Regions from separate parts of the Homo sapiens genome. Here regions 1, 2, 3, 4, 6 and 7 are each linked to region 5. The links are contacts of gene promoters, found by promoter capture Hi-C in blood cells and fetal thymus (Javierre and others, 2016). All regions are on one chromosome and are shown on one strand. Each heading gives the region's core, a stretch centred on a gene start or on the middle of the fragment in contact. The rest is flanking DNA. Distances are from core to core; before and after follow the strand shown.

Evidence for each region. Contacts are between HindIII fragments. The CHiCAGO score rates a contact against its expected background, and 5 or more counts as called.
Region 1: a fragment that was not itself captured here is called in contact with the fragment with the promoter of AFTPH in region 5 in 1 of 17 cell types (fetal thymus); the score reaches 5.8 in fetal thymus.
Region 2: a contact is called between a fragment that was not itself captured here and the fragment with the promoter of AFTPH in region 5, in 3 of 17 cell types (total B cells, total CD8 T cells and neutrophils). The highest score is 7.5, in total B cells.
Region 3: a contact is called between a fragment that was not itself captured here and the fragment with the promoter of AFTPH in region 5, in 1 of 17 cell types (naive CD8 T cells). The highest score is 5.1, in naive CD8 T cells.
Region 4: a contact is called between the fragment with the promoter of ACTR2 here and the fragment with the promoter of AFTPH in region 5, in 4 of 17 cell types (non-activated CD4 T cells, total CD8 T cells, fetal thymus and 1 more). The highest score is 8.0, in non-activated CD4 T cells.
Region 6: a contact is called between a fragment that was not itself captured here and the fragment with the promoter of AFTPH in region 5, in 7 of 17 cell types (fetal thymus, total CD8 T cells, total B cells and 4 more). The highest score is 8.1, in fetal thymus.
Region 7: a fragment that was not itself captured here is called in contact with the fragment with the promoter of AFTPH in region 5 in 5 of 17 cell types (activated CD4 T cells, neutrophils, total CD8 T cells and 2 more); the score reaches 8.2 in activated CD4 T cells.

What each region holds. Positions count from the first base shown.
Region 1 is chr2:63,842,468-63,845,862 of GRCh38, forward strand. The region is part of intron 1 of UGP2 (UDP-glucose pyrophosphorylase 2); the gene reads left to right. Among named protein-coding and RNA genes, the nearest start is that of UGP2, 2.3 kb to the left of the region's middle. The HindIII fragment of the contact is 1,431 bases long and covers 562-1,992 here.
Region 2 is chr2:65,047,793-65,051,271 of GRCh38, forward strand. All of the region lies in intron 2 of LINC02576 (long intergenic non-protein coding RNA 2576), which reads left to right. Among named protein-coding and RNA genes, the nearest start is that of CEP68, 6.9 kb to the right of the region's middle. RefSeq lists a silencer at 2,677-2,849. The HindIII fragment of the contact is 8,739 bases long and covers 1-3,479 here.
Region 3 is chr2:65,063,449-65,067,071 of GRCh38, forward strand. All of the region lies in intron 1 of CEP68 (centrosomal protein 68), which reads left to right. Among named protein-coding and RNA genes, the nearest start is that of CEP68, 8.8 kb to the left of the region's middle. The HindIII fragment of the contact is 4,853 bases long and covers 1-3,623 here.
Region 4 is chr2:65,226,086-65,229,469 of GRCh38, forward strand. ACTR2 (actin related protein 2) reads left to right here and starts at 1,746. Exons shown (of 9, transcript NM_005722.4): 1 at 1,746-1,872. The coding sequence starts at 1,825. LOC124907779 (a long non-coding RNA gene) reads right to left here and starts at 1,514. Exons shown (of 2, transcript XR_007086461.1): 1 at 1,396-1,514. RefSeq lists enhancers at 737-1,626, 1,627-2,515, 2,588-2,677 and a silencer at 1,898-2,087. The HindIII fragment of the contact is 6,982 bases long and covers 1-3,384 here.
Region 5 is chr2:64,522,339-64,525,615 of GRCh38, forward strand. It overlaps AFTPH (aftiphilin), which reads left to right and starts at 1,990. Exons shown (of 10, transcript NM_203437.4): 1 at 1,990-2,274. AFTPH-DT (AFTPH divergent transcript) reads right to left here and starts at 1,817. Exons shown (of 1, transcript NR_136167.1): 1 at 1-1,817. It overlaps MIR4434 (microRNA 4434), which reads left to right and starts at 3,175; the gene lies at 3,175-3,227. RefSeq lists enhancers at 1,547-1,766, 1,868-2,368, 2,369-2,869 and silencers at 1,967-2,126, 2,157-2,236, 2,247-2,496. The HindIII fragment of the contact is 6,179 bases long and covers 587-3,277 here.
Region 6 is chr2:65,126,015-65,129,427 of GRCh38, forward strand. The region is part of intron 1 of RAB1A (RAB1A, member RAS oncogene family); the gene reads right to left. Among named protein-coding and RNA genes, the nearest start is that of RAB1A, 2.4 kb to the right of the region's middle. RefSeq lists enhancers at 1,297-1,836, 3,360-3,413. The HindIII fragment of the contact is 2,208 bases long and covers 876-3,083 here.
Region 7 is chr2:64,002,163-64,005,574 of GRCh38, forward strand. All of the region lies in intron 1 of VPS54 (VPS54 subunit of GARP complex), which reads right to left. Among named protein-coding and RNA genes, the nearest start is that of VPS54, 16 kb to the right of the region's middle. The HindIII fragment of the contact is 1,229 bases long and covers 1,237-2,465 here.

The DNA.
Region 1 (3,395 bases), core at 27-2,526, 680 kb before region 5:
GGCTGTAAGTGATAAAACAGGATTTTTGGCTGCTAATTAATCCTTGTTCTCTTTTCCTGGTCTGTGTCAAGGTACCTGTGCGTGCACGCAGACGGGAAGGGCTGGGGAAGCGGGAGGACTGAGAAAAGCCGGGTGGGTTTTGCCGGGACTGTTGGGGAAGCTTTAGTGTTCTCCGCTTCTACTTCGTTTGTGTGTACGTGGTTTGCGTCTCAGATTCACTTATTGCGAAACTGGGAGTAGCCCGAAGAAGCTGGAGGTCATTTCAGCTGGAGAAATGACTTTGCTGCATTGCTGTGTTTATTTTTTCCTTTTTTGAACTATGAAAAGATGATTAAGGTTCCTTTGAAGTTTGAAAACTGCTCTCTAAATTCCACATGTGTATTTAAAAAGGGTTAGGGAATGCCTCAACTGAGATTATCAGTAACGTGTATATGAATGCATGTGTGTACGGTGTACTCACTGAAATTGGTGCTGGCATAAACCTTTGACACCAGTTTGTAGCATGAGATTTGCCTTCTGGTATGCAAGTAAACTCTTTCCTTGTAGACTCCAGTGTGTGAAAGCTTCAGCCATCTTGATGAACACACAGCTAGTAAAGTTCACAAACACTTATTATGCTTCCTGATAAATGTAGGTGTACTTTTGGAAAAAAAAAGTTGTGTCAGTAATGGCCATCATTTGACCCTGGGAATAAAAATGCCCTACTGAGTTCTACATCGCTTTATTAACTCTTCTTTAAATTTTGTGTAGTAGATTAAAGTAAGAGAATTCGACTGCCTGTGTTATTATCGAAACAGATCGAACGCTATGCTTGCCTTTAGCGCTAAGCTCAGAAATGTCACTTGTTATTAGACTTTCAAATTCATGTTATACCTTATATGTGGTAAGAGATGCTTATGTTCTGATTGAGTAAATGTCTTATTCAAGAATAGAAAGGCAGAACTGTTAGAAACGTACTGGTTTTGTAATAACAATATTCAGTTACCATAAAGGCGGTATTTTGCAAGAATATGCTAGGTAAAAGTGGACAAGTTACTTCTCTTTAAAAGTTAGAAATATTAATAAACCCAAGGTGTTCCATGTAGAGTTATGCTTTAGAATAGGTTGCAGAATTGGCAAGCATTGACTGATTTCACAGCCTTTGCTGTAATGCCAACTTGTCCTCAGAAGATTCAAAATCAAGTGGTAAGAGTTGCTGTGTATGTTTGTCATTACTTTGTCATCCACTTTTTTTAAAAAAACTTTTTATATTTTGGAATACTTCAGGATTTATAGAAAAGTTGCACATTTGTCAAAACTAAGAAATTAACATAGGTACATTACTGTTAACTAAAGGCTTTGTTCAGATTACAGTTCCCATGATTCACTCTAAGATACCAGATTGCACTTAGTTGCCAGCCACTTTTTTTCTTTTTTCTTTTTCTTTCTTCTTTTTTTGTCAAGGTCTTACTGTGTTGTCCACGCTGGAGTACAGTGGGTATTCACAGGAACAATCATAGTGCACTACAGCCTCAAGCCCCTGGGCTCAAGCTGTCCTCCTGCGTTAGCCTCCTGAGTAGATGGGACTTAGGCATATGCCATAGCCTATAGTTGTCATACATTTTTACTTTAAATGGTAGTTTTCCTTTTAAGATGGGCAGTTTTGCACAAGAATATGACACCTCCTCAAAATTTTTTGACATGAATGTGCTCCTGTTTATCATTGTTTAAATTTTGTACAGTGTGAGCCCTCTATATGTTTAACTCTGCTGCTGTTGTAAATGATAAACCTAATTGGCAAATGACACAGCTGTCTCCACAAAAGAGCTTTCAAGTGTAAGGGTTGGAAATTTTGGTTTTGATTATTTTTTTAAGCAAATCAAATTCTTTGATCTTTGCTGCAGAAAATATTGATATTTCCAATCACTGGCACTTAGTAGTTCATGCTCCTTCATAGGGGAAAGAGTTAACAAATGTTAGGTTTCTAACTTTTTTTTTTCATGGGTTTTCTCAAGCTTTATAAGAGTCCTGAGATGTAGATTTTTTATCCTGCCCTTACAGGTGAGGAAAGTTAAGTATCTTGTCCAAAGTTCACAGCTTGTATAAAGCACTGATTGATTGATAGATTGATTTTGAGGCAGGGTCTCACTTTGTTGCCAGGCTGGAGTGCAGTGGTGCGATCACAGCTCACTGCAGCCTTGATCTCCTTGGCTTAAGCAATTTTCCCACCTCAGCCCCCTGAGTAGCTGGGACTACAGGTGCACACCACCATGCCTGGCTACTTTTCTCCTTTTTTAAAGAGACAGGCTTTCCCTATGTTTCTCAGGCTGGTCTCAAACTCCTGGTCTTAAGCGATCTTCTAGCCTCAGCCTCCCAGAGTACTGGGATTACAGGTGTGAGCTGCTAGTGCACAGCACTGAAATTCTTACATGAGTGTGTCTAAAACCCTAGTCCTTCCCGACATCTTTTGTTGCTTCTAACATTAACAACTGTGGAAATGGCCTGTTTCTCCAGCTAGACTGTCAGTTCCCATTGGGCAAAGATAATATTATATCCTTGGGAGAAATACAGTGTTTTGTAAGTGGACGATACTCTAAATGAATTTGTCATGGATGACAAATGAGAAGCCCACAGCTTAGCATTTTCCATCTACTATTTAGTAGCTTATCTTACATTTTTGGTTGTAGTTTTTATAACACCTCTTAGATTATATAAATGTTGAGAAAGATGGAAAGGTACAGACTTAGATTTGAATACCGTTACTAGCAGGTGATCTTAGGCACATACCTTTCAAACCTCAGTTTCTTCTTAGATAAAAATTGGGCAGTAATGCTTATGCCTCAGGGTTATTGAGAGGCTGAAATGAGATGAACTATGTGGATGTGCTAGGCACATATTAGGTAGCCAGTCAATTTTACTTTTCTTTCCTGAAATGATGGTGGCCTTTCAGATAGCATTGCCACCCAAAATATAACCACATGTCATCAACAGAACTAAAAGAAAAAAGGCAGGTATGAAAGTTCTTTATTTTCCTATTCCAGGTTTCATGTTCAGGCCTAGGTGTTATTATGTTAAAAAAAAAAAAAAAAAGTGCCGGGGTGGGGCAAGGTAACGTTTGGACAATATGAATTTGGTTGTAGTTTTTATAACCTCTCAACTTGAGTACAAGTTGGTGACGGTTTTCTTCTGAATACAGTGAACAAAATTTTTTTTGAGCTCTTACTATGTATGATGTACTGTATTAGGATTTCTGGCATATCCCTTATGGTAGGCACTGAAGTTCAGCAGATCTGGGCATTACACCTAAGTGTTGTGTACACCTGTTTTGAATGTAGTAGGATGGTTGCTATACTTGGCTTGTATCTCCTTCTCCAAATCCTAGGCATTGTGCCTTAGAGGAAAGCTGGGTATCTCCA
Region 2 (3,479 bases), core at 195-2,694, 520 kb after region 5:
TGCAAATCTACAGAAAAGTTGAAAGATTACAATGGATATAACCTTTACCTAGTGAATTAGTTATCTATTGCTGCAAAACAAATTACTCTAAAACATAGCTTCATGGGAAAAAACATTTATCATGCCAGTTGCCATGGGTCAGGAGTGCAGGCACTGCTTACCTGACTCTTCTGGCTTGGGGTCTGTCACAAGCTACAAATCAAAGTGTCAAGTGGGCTGCAGTCTCACATGAAGGCTTCACTGGGGAAGGATCTGCTTCCAAGCTCATTCATATGGTTGTCAGCAGGATTCAGTTCCTCATAGGCTATTGGACTGAGGGTCTCAGTTCTTCACTGGCTGTTTTCTGGAGGCCTCCCTCAGTTCCTCACATGTGAGCCTCTTCCCCATGGGGCAGCTCACAACATGGCAGCCCATCTCCATCTGAGCAATTGAAGGAGAGAGAATTCAATTATGGAAGGAACCTCCCACATGCTGTTTGCTAGAAGCCAGTCTCTAAACCCAGCCCTTACTCAAGGGAAAAGGATTACACAAGGTGTGAATTCCAGGAGGGAAGGTCAGAATTCACTGAGTGCCAACTTAGAGTCTGCCAACTACAGATTCATCAATTACTAACATTTTATCACATTTGCACGTGCTCCCCCTTAGATAGATAGCTACAAATACAGATATACAGTTTTGTTTGTTAAACAACCAAAATTAAGTTAAAGATTGATATGGTTTGGCTGTGTCCCCACCGAAATCTCATCTTGAATTCCCACAAGTTGTGGGAAGAACCTGTGGGAGGTAATTGAATCATGGGGGCAGGTTTTTCCCATGCTGTTCTTGTGGTAGTGAATACGTCTCACAAGATCTGACGGTTTTAAAGAGGGGAGTTTCCCTGCACAAGTTCTCTCCTCTTGTCTGCTGCCATGTGAGACGTGCCTTTCACCTTCCACCATGATTGTGAGGCCTCCCCAGCCACGTGGAACTGTAAGTCCATTAAACTTCTTTCTTTTGTAAATTACCCAGTCTCAGGTATGTCTTTATCAGCAGTGTGAAAACAGACTAATACAAAGATATTATAACATTTCACCTCTAATTACTGCAGCATGTATCTCCTAAGAATAAAAATATTTTTCCACATAACCACAATGCCATCACCGCCCCTCAAATTTAACAATTGTGCTATAATATCATCTAATATCAGCCCAAATTCAACTCTCTCCAGTTATCCCCCAAATACCTTTTATAGCTCTTTTTTTTCCTGCTCCACTATCCACTCAAGTTTCCTGTATTGTTTTTGGTTATTATCTATTTAGTCTCTTTTAATCTAGAACCATTCCTTCCAATACCATTTATTACTGGGTATTTTTTTCCATACTGTTGACATTTTTGAAGAGTTCAGGCCAATTGTTTTGTACAACTGTTGCCCACACAACAGGTGGGCTAGGTCACTTGGTAAGTAACAACCAATGGCCACAACCAAGGAGGATTTAACAAGAGGATTTTATTACTTACAACTAGTAAAAAGAACACTGGGTATAGATAGCTCCCAAAGCAATGCCTCCCTGAGCTCCAGGCTGTGTCAGGTTTTATAAGCATAGGGTAATGAGGCATGATCTGACTGGATCTTGCAATGAGGTAATGCCAAGAGGCATGATCTCACTGGATCCTGCTAATGAGTGATGCCAGAGCTCAATCTGATTGCATCGTAGATCCAGCCATGCAGTGTCAACTTCCTAATTCAGTCCCTGCTCCTCTGAGCACTTAGGTTCCCCCCTGTGGCTACACACTTGGTTCACCTGGGCCTGCTCAGGTTACATGACCTGAAGCTCCATTAGCAACTGAAAAACAACTCATAACTTTTGTTACATAAAAGTTGAACCAAACTGGTCTGGTGCAGCTACATAATATCCCATATTCTGGAGATGATTACTTCCTAATGGTGTTCATCTTATACCAGTATCTACTGTATTTCCTGTAAGCAGGAAGTTAGGTTAAATATTTTTGGAAAGAATTCTACTTAGGAGGCACATGTCTGGTAGTCCCATTATTGGTGATGTTTGATCACTTGGTTATGGTGGTAATTGTTTGATCTTTCCATTATAAATGCATAATTTCCCTTTTGTAATTAGTAAATAATCAGTGGGGCAATACTTGGGAGTCTGTGTGAATACCTTGTTCCCAGAAACTTTTTTCCCAATAGTTTTAGCATTCATTAGTAATCCTTATCTTGGTTAATTGGTTAATTATTACATTTGAGTTTCCAAAAGGGTAATTGTCTAATCTAACATTCCTCTTACAGTTATCACTCTGTAAAGATGAGCTTTTCTTTTTCTCTCTTTGTTTTCTTATGTTTTGTTTGAGATTGACTATGGACCATGATTTTCAAAAAATTATTATATTATAATCAATTATAATTATAGATTACAAATATTTATTTTACATTAACATTTAATACATTTATTATATATTTATATATTATGTTAAACATATTTATTATATAGTACTATATATTAATATACTTGTTAATATATTTAATATATAAACATATTTTAAATATAATCATATATTAAGCATATATACTTAACTATATACCTAATTATGTTGAAGTTAATTATACATTTAAGTATATAATTATCTCAAATATACTTAAATACAATTATACTTAAAATGTAATTAAATCGTAATTAACATTATTTTTTATTTGCAGATTGTCCCAAATTTGGCCAATGAAAAAGTCCTTCAAGGCCAGGTGTGGTAGCTCATGCCTATAATCCCAGCATTTTGGGAGGCTGAGGCAGATGGATCACCAGAGGTCAAGAGTTTGAGACCAGCCTGGCCAACATGGTGAAACCCTGTCTCTACTGGAAAAAAAAAAAAAAAATTAGCCGGGTGTGGTGGCAAGTACCTATAACTCAGCAGGCTGAGGCAGGAGAATCACTTGAACCTGGGAGGCAGAGGTTGCAGTCAGCTGAGATCATGCCACTGCACTCCAGCCTGGGAGAAAGAGCAAGACTCTGTTTCAAAAAAAAAAAAAGAAAAAAAAAAAAAAGTCCTTCAAGTTGACTTCTATATCTTTTTTTTAAAAAAAACAGCTTTATTGAGATCTAATTTCCCTACCATACAGTTCACCCATTTACAGTACACAGTTCTATGGTTTTAGTTTATTCAGAGTTGTGCAAGCATCATCACAGTCAATTTTAGAACAATCAAATTTAGTTCATTACCCCTAAAAGAAACTGTTACCCATTAGTGGTCACTTCCTATTCCCCTCAACTCTTGCAGCCCTAGGTAACTGCTAATCCACCGTCTCCATAGATTTGCCTATTCTGGATGTGTCATACGAATGGAATCATCTATGTGGTCTTCTGTGACTGGCTTCTTTCACTTGGCATGTTTTCATGGTTCACCCACATTGTATAAAAATGTCCGTCTACATTCTGTAGCATTGATTTTACTGCCATTTTAACATTCCATATTATGGATATACTGTATTT
Region 3 (3,623 bases), core at 978-3,477, 540 kb after region 5:
CTGTAAAATGTGTGATCCGAGAACGGGAGGCCCCACATTAGGAAATTGTTTAAAGCTGATGACCTGGGAGACTGTGTGGGTCCAAGACAACAAGCGCTATTCACCAGTCTGAGAAGGATAAGCTGCCTCTTATTAGAAGTGCAACCTGAATCTATCGCCCCCACCCCTACCCCAGAGGGTTAGGAGGAATGATGTGTAAAATCTCGGATCTATGGAAATGAAGACCAGACCTTCATGCAGTGTTACAGATGGCCACCGGCCAGATGCAGACAGGGTTGAGTCCTAGGAATCCAAAACTTGTGCGTTTATCATAGCCTGGGCCAGTGTTTTCTTCGGCATGATTGCTGTTTTAAAAGAGGTTTGTCTTCAGTCATTACTTCAGGAAGTTTTCCCCTATTATTTTTATCCCAACTGATTTCTCCCTTTCGTTGCATTTTGGTAACATTTCATAGACAGTTTTGAATGCATTATAGATTGGTTTTTATTTTCTTTCACATGTGTCTGTCTTGGTTCTCATAATAAACTTGTATAATAGGGGGGAAAAGCATGATTTGTCAGGCAGATTAATAAGATTATGAAGGGACTGTTTATCCAGTCTAAGAAAGTAACTACCTTCATTCCGTCTTTACAGACGTACAATTTCCTTGAAAATCATTGAATTTCAGATCTTCTTACCTGGTTGCTGAAGGGACTTTGGCCACACTACTAACCTAGTTTAGGTTTGTGTGTATCCTTGTAAGTTACTTAGGGATGTCAACTGAATAGTTTGTAATAGCTCACCACTCCCTATCTCTCCAGGCTAAATAGATACCTTCTTTTTTGAATAATGAGGTCCAGACAAGATGAATAAAAAGTACATGATCAAAACAAAGGGATAATTTGTTTGCACCCCTCCCTTGCCCCATCATCATCTTATTCCAGCACCTTGTCTCAAGATCGCACCCTTTAGTGAGAGGTGTGGGGAATCTCTAGCCATTGAGAGAGTTTTTAGAAATCGAGCAAGAGGCCGGGCGTGGTGGCTCACACCTGTAATCCCAGCACTTTGGGAGGCCGAGGCAGGCAGATCACGATGTCAGGAGATCGAGACCATCCTGGCTAATGTGGTGAAACCCCATCTCTACTAAAAATACAAAAAATTAGCTGGGTGCGGTGGTGGGCGCCTGTAGTCCCAGCTACTCGGGAGGCTGAGGCAGGAGAATGGCGTGAACCCGGGAGGTGGAGCTTGCAGTGAGCTGAGATAGCGCCACTGCAGTCCAGCCTTGGCGAAAAAGCGAGACTCCGTCTCAAAAAAAAAAAAAAAAAGAAATGGAGCAAGAAGTAGCAATTGGGAATTATGGGCTATACCCAGCCTTCACCCTGGTTTTTCTAGCTCACGGGCGCAGCTGTTCCCCTACTTATGAAAACAAAACTTGCCTGTAAACGTCTTCATGTGCAGTTTCTTAATGAGCCACAAGGTGAGGATGTGGCTCCGTAAGATCTCTGTCTCAGCAAGATTTGTCACTCTTCTCTTTGTCCCTCCACCAGTCTTCTCTCTCTTCTGCTTTGTGGCTTAACTGTTTGATCACTTATTCCCCAGTTGGCTCATAAACAGCTTGGGCTCTGGAGTTGGGCAGTCCTGGACTTGTCTCACTCAGAGGCTTCGTTTCCCCATCTGTGACGTGAGGATTAAAGACCCTGGCTCCCGTGGGAACTGGCCCTCACATGTGCTGGTGGAGTGTAGAGTGATACCACTCAGCAGAGGGCCACTTGGCAGTGTGTGCAAAAGCACCCTTCGCCTCAGCAGCTCTACTTCTGCAATTCATGCTGAGGATGTGCCAGCACAAATGTGTGTGCATAGTGACTCATCATAGCATTGTTTGGACTAGCAAAAAAGACTAGAAATAACCCAAATGTCCACTAATAAGGGACTGGTGAAATAAACTAGTGCGTCCTTACACCAGAATACAGTACTGGTCAGTAATGAAAAAGAGGAAGCTGTCTTTGTACGGTAAGTCCTCACTTGATGTCGTCAGTAAGTTCTTGGAAACCGTGACTCTGCCACTTGAAAGGACATATAACGAAACCAATTTTACCATAGTCTAATTGATATAAATAAGAGTTAAGCTCCTATGGCATATTTCTGGTCATGAAAGCATCACCAAACTTCTAAGTAAAGACTAAAACACTTTTAAATTAAATAGTGAAATAAATGTGAGCTGTACATACATTTATGAAAGATGAATAAAAACAAGTAAGATGAGCCAGGCGTGGTGGCTCATGCCTGTAATCCCAGCACTTTGGGAGGCCAACTAGGGCGGATCATTTGAGGTCAGGAGTTCCAGATCAGCCTGGCCAACATGGTGAAACCCCATACAAAAATTAGTCAGGCATGGTGGTGAGTGTCTGTAGTCCCAGCTACTCAGAAGGCTGAAGCAGGAGAATTGCTTGAAGCCAGGGGCCGGAGGTTGCAGTGAGCCAAGATCACGCCACTGCACTCCAGCCTAGGTGACAAACCGAGACTTCATCTTAAAAAAAAAAAAAAAAACACAAGATTATGATTTACCTGCTTACTCAAATGGGTTCAAGTTCGCAGGTAGCTGGAGCCTGTCCCAGCAGCTGAGGGTGTAAGGAGGGAACCAATCATGGGCAGGACTTCATCCCATGGCAGGGCACGCTCACTCATCTACCCACACTCAGACCAGGACCATGTAGTCAGCCCCATTCACCTAAGTATATGTTTTCAGGATGTGGGAGGAAACCCGAGTATCCAGATGAACTGGATATCATCCAGGCAGACATGGGGAGAATGTGCACACTCCATACAGACAGTGACCTCAGTCAGGAATCAGGGTTTCTTATCAATGATATAATGAAAAGACATTGGACCGGCTGGGCGGTGTGGCTTACACCTGTAATCCTAGCACTTTGGGAGGCTGAGGCGGGTGGATCACGAGGTCAGAAGTTCAAGACCAGCCTGGCCAAGATGGCGAAACCCCGTCTCTATTAAAAATACAAAAATTGGCCAGGCACGGTGGCTCACGCCTGTAATCCCAGCACTTTGGGAGGCTGAGGCGGGTGGATCATAAGGTCAGAATTTCAAGACCAGCCTGGCCAGGATGGTGAAACCCCATCTCTACTAAAAATATAAAAATTAGCCAGGTGTGGTGGTGGGTGCCTGTAATCCCAGCTACTCGGGAGGCTGAGGCAGAGAATTGCTTGAACCCAGGAGGCAGAGGTTGCAGTGAGCCGAGATCACACCACTGCACACCAGCCTGGAAGACAGAGTGAGACTCTGTCTCAAAAAAAAAAAAAAAAAAAATATATATATATATATATATATACACACACAAAAAAAAATTAGCTGGGCATGGTGGCACATGCCTGTAATCCCAGCTGCTTGGGAGGCTGAGGCAGGAGAATTGCTTGAACCAGGGAGGCGGAGGTTGCAGTGAACTGAGATCGCACCAGTGCACTCCAGCCTGGGCAACAGAGTGAGACTCTGTCTCAAAAAAAAAAAAGATATCGTACCAAGTGATGTTACTGAAGGACCTGCTGTATTGCTTAGGAATGAGCCCCTAGATATTTTTTGTAGAGAAAAGAAAACCAAGGTTCTGAATAGTATGACCTATACAGTTTGCTACTTT
Region 4 (3,384 bases), core at 496-2,995, 700 kb after region 5:
TTTGCCCTCCTTGGCCTCCCCAAGTGCTGGGATTACAGGCGTGAGCCACCGCGCCCGGAATAATGTTCTTTCTTTAAAAATACAAATTAGCAATCCCCTTAATTCCACAAAGAGGAAAAGTAAAAGAACACAGAAATGCTTGAGTTCAATTTGCTGAGACCAATAAAATGCACTTTCAAGAAAACTGCACAGCACTAGCATTGGAGGCCACAAAAATAAGATACGGACTCTATACTCAAGGAATTTATGAACAAATAAATTTTTCTGCTGGCTGAGGTACTTCTCTGACTGTTAAAGCAGGTAAAACGAAGAAATGTTCCTCCGAGACTTCCTACCTATTCTAACCTCTCAAACTTCTAATTGCAACAATGGCAGCTTTATTTTTATCTTAATATTTATGTGTTGAGGGTTCCATATAAGATTAGATTTGAATAAAGCACTGTATGCCTTTAAAAAGGTTTGAAAATCACTGGTCTAATAAAAGAACAGTGAAAACTGACAGGCAGCTATATTATAAAAAGAATACTGGATTGAGGGTTCATGATGACTGTTTTATTCTAGTTGTTGAACATGTACAGCCATGTCGAAGGAAAAGTTCTATTTCTCACCTCTCATAAAGGATGGCATTTTAAAGGTGAATTTTAATGTCATTCATCTAATAAATATTTGTTGCATGCAATAAGCACAATGTTATTCATATATTCATAGTAAAGTAATAGGGAGAAAGGAAGTACGGAATATCCTGAGGATATCAGCTGTCATCAGAGATGTAACAAGCTGGGTCTCAGAGCACAAGTTTGCCAATTGATTAAAAAGGAAAAAAAATGAGGCATCGTAGATAGAATCATAGGTCCAGAAGAACAGAATTAGAAATAGCTACCACTGAATGAACATTTCCTCCATGCATAGACTTTTATCCTCACCACACCTATGGAGATAGAAGTTATTATCCCCATGCAGACAGGGGTATGCCAAAATCACAAAACTCGTGAGTGGCAGCGCCACGTTTGAAACTGGGGTTGTCTGATTTCAAAGCCAAGGCTCTGGGTTCACAGAAGTACATGTACTTAAGAGGTGTGAAGCAACATGGGACTACTGGAAGGAGGCGGTGAGCCACGAGGCTGGAAATGCAGGCACCTGCTCTCGCTCACTTGACCATAGAGCAACTTGGGCAAAGAAGGGGTGGGCTGACATTGGAGTATGGAACAAACGCATGATTTCAAATAAGCATGTGTGTATCCATCCCAGTTCTGTCCGCTGAAAAGGCCTAGAAGCAATAACACACCAAGCCCTGTCGAATGGTGGGGTCCGCCAGGACCTCCAGGCTTGCTCCCCGCCCTACCCGCCAGCTTCTCCGCCACATTCCACTGCCGCAGCAGAACCGGTGTCCTTCACCTGCCTGCGTCTTCTGCAGTTCGTTAAGCAGCGCCCTTAGCTCCTGTGACACTTTAGGGAGAAAGCCGCAGCACCGGCGATGTTGGCCGCCATTAACGCCCGGCAAAGCGCCCGGAACTAGAAGCAGCGAAGAACCCGGGTGGGCAGCGACCGTGACAGCCGAGCCGGAAGCGGAGCTGCGGGAGGGGCCTCGACGCTCCTCCATCTTTTATTGGAGCTCACCGCTGCCAGTCGCGCTGCCTGCCCGTCCCACCCTTTTCGTGCAGGCATTCAGCTAAATGACGGGCGGAGCCCGGCGGCGGCTTCCGGTCGGGGGAAAAAAGTTGGGCCGAAGGAGGGGCCGGGAAGACGCAAGAGGAAGAAGAGAAAACGGCCGGGCGGCGGTGGCTGTAGGTTGTGCGGCTGCAGCGGCTCTTCCCTGGGCGGACGATGGACAGCCAGGGCAGGAAGGTGGTGGTGTGCGACAACGGCACCGGGGTAAGGGCCGCGCGAGGAGGCCTTGGCGGCCACAGACGCCGGCGGGGACGAGCAGCTGGCGCACGGGCCCTCGGCCCCCAGGGCTGCACCTCCGGGCCCTCGGGGCGAAGGGGCGCGGGGCGGTGCCTCCCACCTCCGCGGGCGTGGGAGCGAGCCGGCCGTTCCCTGGTCTCCCTTGAGCCTGCCACCCATTTAGCCTGCCACCCCCTCACCCTTCCGGGTGGGGGCGGCGGGCGAGACCGGCACTGGACATGGAGCCTACTGACCGCCCGGCAGGGACCTGCTCCGCGCTAATGCGGGGGCAATTGGGCTAAAGCGGACGGAAGCGTAAAAGGCTCGGTTTGTGTGTTCCGAGAAGGGCTCTTTTCCCCAGGGCCACCGGTTTGTAAAAAGGAGAAAGACCTAGAGGCCTTCCTCTTCCTGTATAGTTGAAGATACACCAAACGAGAAGCAGGAAGCGGGTTTACTTAAAAAAAAAAAAAAAAAAAGGGAAGTGCTGTCATGGAGTGTGGACCTCAGCCCTTTCGCTGTGTTTGTTGGGCTTTTTATTAGTTTTTTCGAGGGAAGGGGTCCAGATCGGCAGCGCATCGTTCACTTTTTGTTTTACATACTAGTATTTGGCCCAGGAGTAGGCCCACGGAGACCAGCATGTTCCATTGAGTGGTTTTGGGTGACCTAGGATCCCGCAAGACTCAAGTGTTAATTCCACTAGCCTTAGGGGAAGTTAATTAGTGTTGATTATCCCACCCCCAGCCCCCTTTTTTCCCTTCGTTTCAGTATACAGGTAATGTTAGCCTTTAAGATTCAAAAATTGTAAAATCTGACTAAAGCACTGATTTAGAAACTATTTGAAAATTGTTTCTGTAATCCCAGCACTTTGGGAGGCCCAGGCGGGCAGATCACCAGAGGTTAGGAGTTCGAGACCAGCCCAGCCAACGTGGTGAAACCCCGGTCTCTACTAAAAATACAAAAATTAGCCGGCCGTGGTGGTGCTTGCCTGTAATCCCAGCTACTTGGGAGGCTGAGGCAGGAGAATCCCTTGAAGCCAGGAAGCGGAGGTTGCAGTGAGCCGAGATTGCGCCACTGCACTCCAGCCTGGGCGACAAGAGTGAAACTCCGTCTCAATTATAAAAAAAAAAAATTGTTTCATTCAGACCTCCCTCTTGCCAGATTAAAAAAAAATGTATTTTGGGTAGCAAAGTCAGCAAATTAGAAGATGGAAATATTATTTATTCTGGATGACTTCTATAGTGATTTCTAACCATTTTGATGTTGCAACATTTTGTGAGTTTTCTCCCCTCCCTCCCATAAATATGATGTATGAATTAAAGTTCATTTTACTTGAACAAAACACTTTGGAATCTGAATTGTTGAGGGGGAAAAGAGCTGGTATTTACTGCCATAATACTGCCCTTGATTAGATTTGTTACACAATTTTACAAGCAATAATTATGGTAGCTTCATCTGAACTGTGTTAAAAATGGACTAGAGTAAAAAGAGTGTTAACGTACA
Region 5 (3,277 bases), core at 740-3,239:
ATGATTACAAGTTTGTAAAAAGTACGCACAGGAAAAAAAAACTAGAAGTAAATACAACAAATGTTAACTGGTAATTTTTTTCTTCTTCTTTTCTTGATGCCAAATCTTAGGTAATGCAGTTATGGCCATAATTTTTAAAAGGTAAATAAAAACAATACTATCATTGACTCCAAATGAAATGGACTTTATATTTCCCACAGATTTATCACCTTAAAAACACTCAAATACTTTCCCTTTGTAATAAAATGTCATGAGCATTAGGGCACTGTCTTCGGAATTACATGTAAGATTACCAATTACAAGTTAGTTGGCCAAATAGGTACTCAATTTCCCTATTACAAAATTGTAAGCTGATGGGGGGTGTGCAATTTAATTTAATTTTTTTTTAGACAGGGTTTCACTCTGTCGCGCAGGCTGGAGTGCAGTTTAAATTCATTTAGTTTAAACATGTTCTTAGTGTAGGGTCTGCTTTAAGGTCTAGTCATATGTTCTTATTTTGATATTTCTGTTTAGTAGAGCTGTAAAATGAAAACAAGCATGTGTTCGTTTAAAATCAATTTCTAGTTTCTACACACACACAAATTCAAGCTTGCACACGAGCTAAACCAGCAGGGGGCGAAATACAATAGGCATAAATTTGACAAGCCATATAGATTTTTCTTACTTTAGTGACTGAGCAATAACACAAAATCCAGCATAACCACAAAGCAATTGATACTCCCATTTAAAGTGATGCAGTCTCCGTATATCTTACAGCGATTGAATAGTAAAGAGACAAATGCGGGTCCATTGGAGCGCTCCGAGTTAATTTGTCTAGAACATTGCAGAGGCGGGATAAATCGTGATGAACTGCTATTGTCCTTATCTTTCTCCTGATTTGTATAATTCCTCCACCCAAAGGGGTGGACACTTCTCTGTGCCTGAGGGGATGTTTTCCATTCTTGTTTCTTTGCGTAACTGCTGAGCTTTGCTGTTTTGGAACTATTTTAAATTATTCAAATTACTGATGCAGACGTTTGGCAAATATGGGCAGAATGAGGGGCCGGCGGGGGTCATGATTTGTAGGACCCCGGGCTCATCATCCGAGACAGTAATCATAATCCTGTAGCCTTGTAGTCTGATTGTTACACTGGCAGGTGTTCTAACAGATATTCATTGTAAAGGAGGAGGAAAGGTAATATTTTTATTACCTTTATATAAATAACAGTTGATTATATAAATAATCAACTGTTCAGGACTGATGATGGAAACAAAATCGGTTACGACCTCTGTTCCAGAAATGCGTTTGAATGCATAAGTTTATGGTGATCTCTTTAGCTTCACTAGATATTCTCCGTAAGGGTCTATGAAAAACGACCACCTTCTCCATCCATTAGCCAAATTCCGGACTACTATTTTCTTGTCGGTCTCGAAGACGATTTGTCAGTTTGGCGGCTGCTTTCCCACCTTAAATTCTATTTATCGCAACCTCTTGTTATTTGTTAAATATCAGCTTCTTCCTCTGTCGGCATAAATTTAAAAAGAGGAAGAGACAGGCTGTGAATGAAAAAGTCGTTTTTCGGGGCGAAAAGGGCAAGCTGACGAATGCTCTCTAGTAGGTTTTTGGTAAAAATGTGGTTCTATATTTCCAAACCTTTACAATTTTATTTGGAGAGCAAGAGACTTAATCCGGTCTTGAGCTGAACGTTAACCGGCTGAAAGGAGCACCTGTCCTTCGCCAGGAGCGCAGCCTCAACCGGCGCCTGAGTGCGGGAAGACGTCTATCCCCCTACAGCTCTATGACTCGCAAGGAAGTAAAAGGAAAGGGCAGCTTGCCCGCACCCAAAATGGCGGTCGGCGCTCTGCACGACAGCGCCTGCGCAGGGATAAGCGTTCTGTGACACCAATTCCCCTGGAGTGTCCTCCCCCACCCCACAGCACCCACCAGCGCCCGGTCCCGACCTAGCCACCTGCGCCCGGAAGTGACGTGTCGGCGGCAGCGGTTCCCCCGCTGCATGATGGGAGAGTGTGTGGAGTGGGCGGGGGGTCTCCGCGGAGGAGGTGGAGGAGGCGGCGGCGGCGGCGGAAGAGGGCGGAGGGTAGTGGGATGGGGGTCCCGCGGCAGCGGTGAAACTCCGGGTGGGCGTCCATGGTGCTGCTGCGCTGACAGGGCTGTGAGCAGCCGGCCTTCCGCTCTCACCAGTTCCGCGTCGGAATAGACGGTCCTTCCCCGGGGAGTCAGTTCCTCCCCGGGCCCCTGAGCCATGCCCATCGCAGCCGCCCCGAAGGAGCCAGGTAAGCGCCGCCGCTCCGCTCCCCTAGCTGCGCCGGGGAAAGAGGGTGCGGGGACCAGGCCCGGCCCAGCAGCCAGACCCTCACCCGGGCCGGGAGCATCTGCCCGCCGCGGAGCCGGGAGCTGTGAGGACGGAGCTGGCTCTGCGGGCCTGCGGGCTCCCGGCTCTGCTCTCTTCTGCGGCGAGTGCGGGAACGCCGCTGGTGGCGCCCGAAGCGCACGGCCCCCTCCTCGCCATCCCGGGCACCGGCCGGGTAAGTGGGAGTCCTTCCCTCCCCGGCCACCGCCGGCTCTCCCTGCCCCTTTGCTTCCACCTCCCAAAGCTCCGCGCTGGCTGCGTTCTCCAGGGAGCTGTTCAGAAGTTTGGGGCTTTGCTTGGGCTTCTTCGCTCTCCTTCCCCCTCCCTCGTGACAGGTGTAAACACTGCCTCCTTCACCGAGGCCCGAGGCTGGCCGCGACCTGAGTGTGCTGCTTCCAAGGGTCTCTGAAGCAAGCGAATTTGGAATCCTCCAACAGGCAGAGGGGACAGCCCCAAAGCTCACGCATCCCTTCCTCAGAGTACCTTTTCTGCTGTCTTCTTGCACTCTTCAAGAAATTATCTGCGTCTCCTCTCCAGTTTGCGTTTGAAAAGTTGGACCATATTCCTTAAGTGCCTGGTTTGGCAGGTGCTGCGTCTTGCTTGGGGCAGAGGCAGAGTATGGAGTGAGGGGTGGTAGGGTCCTTGCTCTATTAGGAAAGTAATGGGGATAGCAAGGTTTTTTTTTCCTTGTTGCTTTGTGCAAGTTATAGCTTGGTTATACTGAATCTTTTCTGTTGGGGCCGAGGGAAGAACTGACTCATACATGTAAATTTTTTACTGGGCGGGGGGATGAAACAAAAGTAATGGTTCCGTTTCAAAGTTCTCACTTTAGGAGAAGTAAAGTAGAACTTTGGTTTTCAACTTTTCCTACAGTGTAAGTCTTCCTTCCACCTCCTATTCCGAGGATTTTATTTGGTGGAGGGGAG
Region 6 (3,413 bases), core at 730-3,229, 600 kb after region 5:
GCGCCAGCCAACACACCCAGATAATTTTCTGTATTAGTAGAGATAGGGTTTTGCCATATTGGCCAGGCTGGTCTTGAACTCCTGACCTTAGGTGATCCACCTGCTTCAGCCTGATCAACATTAGAGATGGCTGGGTACTCTATACAAAAATTAGCTGGTTATGGTGGCAAATGCCTGTAATCCCAGCTACTCAGGAGACCAAGGCAGGAAAATCGCTTGAACCCAGGAGGCAGAGATTGCAGTGAGCCAAGATCGCGCCACTGCACTCCAGCCTGGGTGACAGAGTGAGACTCCATCTCGAAAAAAAGAAAAAGAAAAGAAAACAAAAACAAAAAAAAACACAAACAGCCAGGCACAGTGGCTCACGCCTGTAATCCCAACACTTTGGGAGGCCAAGGCCCGGGCGACAGAGCAAGATTCCGTCTCAAAAAAAAAACAAAACAAACAAAAAAAGTAATACAGCTACCAACTCTTATGTAAACCAATATAAATCTAAAAATTCTGTTGCTTCAGAATCTTTTTTCTCAAGATCCCATTTTCACTACCAAATTTAGCAGAACCCATTAACAAAGATTATAAATTTCTAAAAGAAACAATATAAATTGGTAATGATAAACCAAAGTAACTTAAGGAACATCTGGAGTACATTTGTAAACATTAGCTAATATACCATTGTTAGTTATTAAGATAACATACTGGAAGCAGGAAAAGCATCCACCCATTAAAGTTTTAATTGAAGAGAAAGCAAGACTTTGGAGTTTGGAACAAGATGTTAAAAACGAATGAGCTTGTATTTGCGTGATAAAACACTAAAGAACTTTTCTTTCTTTCCTTTATTTTCCAAATTTTCTCTAATTACTTTTATAAAGATAACAAGCTTCATTAAAACAAAAAGAAACTGCTTAAGTCAGATTACTAAAAATCTGATTGCTCACTGCCCTTGTGACCTCCCCTAATAAAATATCCCTCACTTCCTCTCACCCTAAGTAATTTTCACTAACACTTTTGCAAAGGTTTTCTCAAATTCCTGTATTATTTTACTAAACAGTCTAGAATACAAATATAGTAGGCCAGATACCCATGTATTTGATCCCAGAAAAAATATAAAAACTGTTTCTGGGTTTGATCCCTTTGAGGTCATTAGTCTTCAAAAGAAAGGATGATTTGACACCGTATTTACTTATTAATTACTGTCCTTGTCATTTATGAGCCATTCCTCCTTCTTCTCCCCCTTGAAAATTCCTAGTCACTCCCTCTGTTCCTCCAAATCTAATTGCTGATAAATCCCTTTCAGGTCTCTCTTCTATAAAGTCTTCCAAAACCCAGATAGCCAACCACAACCCACCATCCCCCTGAAATCTTGTTGCTCTCATCCATGCCACACATCTGGAATTTGCTATATCTACTGGTATTTGACATGTATAAAATCTATTTCTGCCGGGCGCGGTGGCTCACGCCTGTAATCCCAACACTTTGGGAAGCTGAGGCGGGCGGATCACTTCGGGAGTTTGAGACCAGCCTGACCAACATGGAGAAACCCCGTCTCTACCAAAAATACAAAATTAGCCGGGAGTGGTGGCACATGCCTGTAATCCCAACTTCTCGGGAATCTGAGGCAGGAGAATCACTTGAACCCAGGAGGCGGAGGTGGCGGTGAGAGGAGATTTGCGCCATTGCACTCCAGCCTGGGCAACAAGATTGAAACTCCGTCTCAAAACAATAAATAATTTTTTTTTTGAGACGGAGTCTTGCTCTGTCGTCCAGGCTGGAGTGCAGTGGCCAGATCTTGGTTCACTGCAAGCTCCACCTCCCGGGATCACGCCATTCTCCTGCCTCAGCCTCTCGAGTAGCTGGGACTACAGGTGCCCACCACCACGCCCGGCTAATTTTTTTGCATTTTTAGTAGAGACGGGGTTTCACCGTGTTACCGAGGATGGTCTCGATCTCCTGACCTCGGGATCCGCCCGCCTCGGCCTCCCAAAGTGCTGGGATTACTGAGGTGAGCCACCGCGCCTGGCCTATATCTAAACTTCTTAAGCGCAAGGATTATATTCCTAAATCCTGGTACTAATAGAATGCCTTTCATGAAAATGATGCATACCACCTGAAGAATGCTCACACGGTTTTTCAAATTCTTTTATATACATTTGAATTTCACCACTACCCTGACAGGAATAATGACTCCAATTATCCTATTTTACAAAAGGGAAAAAAAATTCAGAGGCTGAGTAACTTGTCAAAGTTCTCAACTAATCTTGAAGATTTATTTACACTAATAAACATATATATAGCAAATTCAGAAAATTTCCTGAACAGTAGAGGTCTATAAACCTCGATAAAGCAGTAAATCCATGTTCTTTATTGTTACCAAGAAAACTACTAAATTAAGAACCTCAAGTTCACCTCCGTTCAACTGTGCAAAACCAACTTTGTCCTTGGAGCCCTTGAAAAAAAATTTTTTTTAAACTGTCAACACAGCAAATGTCACTACAAGAACACTACCCTCAACTTCTAAAACATGAAATTCTAATAAAATACTACGGTTTCTGTTTAGTGCAAAAGATTTCAGCTTCAAGCCACACTATTACAAAACTTGTAAGCATTTTGCAAGAGCCATGTGACACACATATGACAGTCAGCTAAACTGGTGGGTGGACCTTTTAGGGGAAAATGTCTAGCAGTAATTGACCAAACCAGCAAATAAACTCAACTTTTACAACAAATACTGATGTTCCCCCATCCCTCAAAGGCCTTTGACACTGAAAAGGAATACCAATTCGGTCTCTTCCAATTATTCATTACTTTACATGCATGTAAACTGTAGAGGAAATTTTTAAAGGGCCATTGAGGAGAGCCCAACAAACTCTACCCAAGGGAAGTGAACACCAGTTCCCAGGAAAGGTGCCAGGTGTGTCACATCTGCTGTGGTGACTTCTTGAGTAAGCAAGAAAAAGAAATGCATTAACTTTTCATGACACGTCATGGAACCTCATTCCCTATCTGCAAGCATCCAAGCAGGTAATCCAAAACCTACATACAGATCTATCATAGGTCCCGTTCGTTTCTCTTTCAACTTGACAGCAAGCTTCCTTTAATCTGCGAGTATCAAAAAGACATTTCTTGGCTTTAGTTTTTTTTTTTTCCCTTGACCCACAGAAGACAAAATGACTTAGGTGTCCTCTTTAAAAAAAAAAAAAACAAAATTCTCACAAATGCCCAGGTTTTTATAGGAGGGCAATGGACCCGGCGAGCTCTTAAACAACTCCTCCAAGACACAACTCAAAAAGAGAACTAATAAATGTTCAGTTGCTTCTCACCATCTACTCATTCCCCTCAATCCCACGCAGTCCCGAAAAGCATCCATATTACCTGAAACCTGGCGGGGAGGATGGAAGGAGAGAGAGCCAACAAGC
Region 7 (3,412 bases), core at 601-3,100, 520 kb before region 5:
TCCTATCCCAAGCATACAAATTTCTCCACACCACATAGTCGCTGCATGGGGGATGGGGGAGAGGTGGTGTCAGCAATTCAAGACTGTCTTTCCTATCCTGTTCAGTGCTTCTTTGGGCAATATGAAGTTAAAATCAGGTTCTGTGAGTGCTCACCTGATTTTTGTTTCTTATGAAAGTGCTTTTGGTGTGTAGTTGTTAAATTTGGTGTTCCTATGGAGGGGGACATCCAGTGGAGCCTTCTAGTCCACCATCTTGCTCTGTACCCCCAAATCTAAAATAAATACATTTTGACATGAAGTGTTAAGCCACAGACATGTGGAAAATGTATTTATGTTAAACATCCATTGCTTAATGTCAGATAAATTAGATATTCATTCTGACAATACTATGTTGATATCTTGATTTATTCTATTTACCATGCTGTTTTTACAGAAAAAAAATCCTAAGTGCCATTTTAGAAACCTAGAAATATGCAGGGAGATGGCAGAAAAATATTTCTAGATTCTTCTAAGTTATTTCTGTATCTGAGGAGAAAAACACATGGTTTACTCTTTAAAGATTTTGACTTGGAAAACATATGCACATTCTCTTTTTTCCTATACCACTCTTAATTCTTATAACAAGAGGGAAGATCTCTAGTAAAAGGGGATTACATAAAACTAGTGGACTGCCTATAAAGATGAGTCCCAGTTTCCAAACATTTGACTCTTCACTGCCTTCACCATCCACAGCTTATTATTAAAAAGATCTCCCTACAGTAAGAACCAAACTTTGTACTGATCATCACATAATTATAAAAGTACAATCACTGGTAAGAAAACATGGATTTATTCATAAGATGTAGATGTACAGACAAATACAACAAATGTACATGGCATCTGAATCACAAAATTTCAGCAAAGAAATAATCTTTCATTGAAAGGCTAAAGAACAAAAATGATGAGAAACCTTAAGAAGGTTTCAGGATAAGCAATGATAGTTTGTCTACTCAGAAAAAAAATCAGTTCGAAAAAACAAACAAGCAAACAAAATACACAAAATACAGGAAAACGGAAAGCTCTAAGCACTAAACACAGGGAACTACTGATTTCTGATAGTTCAAGTTAACTACCATCTAGAAACAAATTTGGCATTTTAACAATTGTAATGAGAATCTATAAATAGCTCTACCTTTTTCACATGGTAATCTCCTTATAATTGTATGAATACTATGTTCAAATATTATTCTCTCTTGAAGCTTTCTTTGGTTTCTCACACTTAGTCACTCTATGTATTTCAATTTTTGCATCAATCATACTGAGGTTTTGCTTTTCATACAGTTCTTCCCTATCAGGCTTTGCATTTCTTGATGTTTCTGTTTTTCTGTGTATTCTATTTGCTTATCACAGTTCCTGTCATACATATAATAAAAATTTTATAGATGAATGAAATGGATGGTATGTAGAACATATCAGAACAGACAGACAAAACAGACAGACAGCTGCCAATAATACTTAAGTAATAACAGAATGGGTCTGGGCTAATAAGGAAAAGAAAAAACAATCATCCATTCCAAAAAAAAAGGATTTCCAAGGATGAGTAAATAGAGATTTGATTTTCTTTCTTATAGCTCAAAATATCTTTTTATGTTCAGTTAAAAACTTCTTTTGAAAGGCACTAGAAGCATTGCCTCCCCCAACCCCAACCACCAGCCAGAACCCCACCAAGCAATGAACACACGTGGTGCCCAGACTTCTGTTTCTAAATACCACTTCCAACTAAAAGAACCAGGACTCTTTGAAAGAATATGTAACTCCAGACATGGAATACAGAAAGAATAAGTCTACCCTGAGCACTCTTGTGTCAGAAAGCAAGATATGCTCAAAGACCAGCAGGACCTATCAAGAGGACAAAGGACCAAGTTAAAAGGGGGTTCCCACTGGCCACATTTGGGACAACTTGAGCATATTTTTTTAAAAGTAATAGAGTATAACATATGGAATAAGTAAAAATTAATGGATACATAGAGATACTTAAGGGAGAAAAAAAAAGATAAGGAAAGGGGGTGGGGAAAGAAAATCTCTACTGAAGAATGCCAGTAATAAATATAAAAGGAATAACCAAATTAGAAAATCACCAATTTGCAACCCCCAATGTAAAAGCTAATTCAGGCAAAAATCACCAAAGTATGCTAAGGCCATTAGGTGAAAAGTTGTTAAAAACATTATATTCTCATGGCGCCTAAGTATTACCTCACAGATTACTTAGCAACACAAAGGGGAAAATGTATCTTTAAAATGGAGACCTGGCTGTCACCACCTTACATAAGTCATTAAAGTTAACATTACTGATAACAGGAGGACAACCTGATATTATGTAATTCATGAAATGACAAAATAGGAAATAAACATCATTACCTATGAAATAGTCTCTTCAAAAATGTTTAATCCAATCCAATCCAATCCAATCTCTAGATCAGGAGTTAAGCTTTATTGTCCTGTGGATTTCTTTTACAGTCTGGCGAAGTTTATGGATACCTTCTTAGAATAATGTTTTTAAATGCATAAAACACACAACACTACAATGGACAATTATACTGAACTACAGCTACAATAATAACTGTTTAAATTATAACATAGTATTATTTCTTCTTTTTGAGACAGGCTCTCACTGTCACCCAGGCTGGAGTGCAGTGACATAATCACAGCTCACTGCAATCTCAACCTCCTGGGTGCAAGCGATCCTCCCACCTCAGCCTCCTGAGTAGCTGGGACCACAGGTGCACACTACCACACCTGGCTAATTTTTGTATTTTTGTAGAGACGAGGTCTCACTATGTTGTCCAGGCTGGTCCTGAACTCCTGGGCTCAGGCAGTCCTCCCACATCAGCCTCCCAGAGTGCTGGTATTACAGGCATGAGCTACCATGCCCAGTCTACTATTGCTTCTTTTTTTTTTTTTTTTTTTTTTTTTTTTTTTTGAGACGGAGTCCCGCTCTTTAGCCCAGGCCAGATTGCAGTGGCACAATCTCGGCTCACTGCAAGCTCCGCCTCCCAGGTTCACGCCATTCTCCTGCCTCAGCCTCCCGAGTAGCTGGGACTACAGGTGCCCGCCACCGCGCCCGGCTAATTTTTTGTATTTTTAGTAGAGACGGGGTTTCACCGTGTTAGCCAAGATGGTCTCGATCTCCTGACCTTGTGATCCGCCCGCCTCGGCCTCCCAAAGTGCTGGGATTACAGGCGTGAGCCACCGCGCCCAGCCTACTATTGCTTCTTAATACGAATCTAGTAACTACCTTATAGGCAATAAATGAGCATAAATTAAATCTTAAGATATCTGTAGCAATTGAATGTGATATGAGAATACCTGAGATTTCTATTGGTGACAAAGCTACAGGTACTGTAAATGTACTGTCCATACTGTATCCATGAAG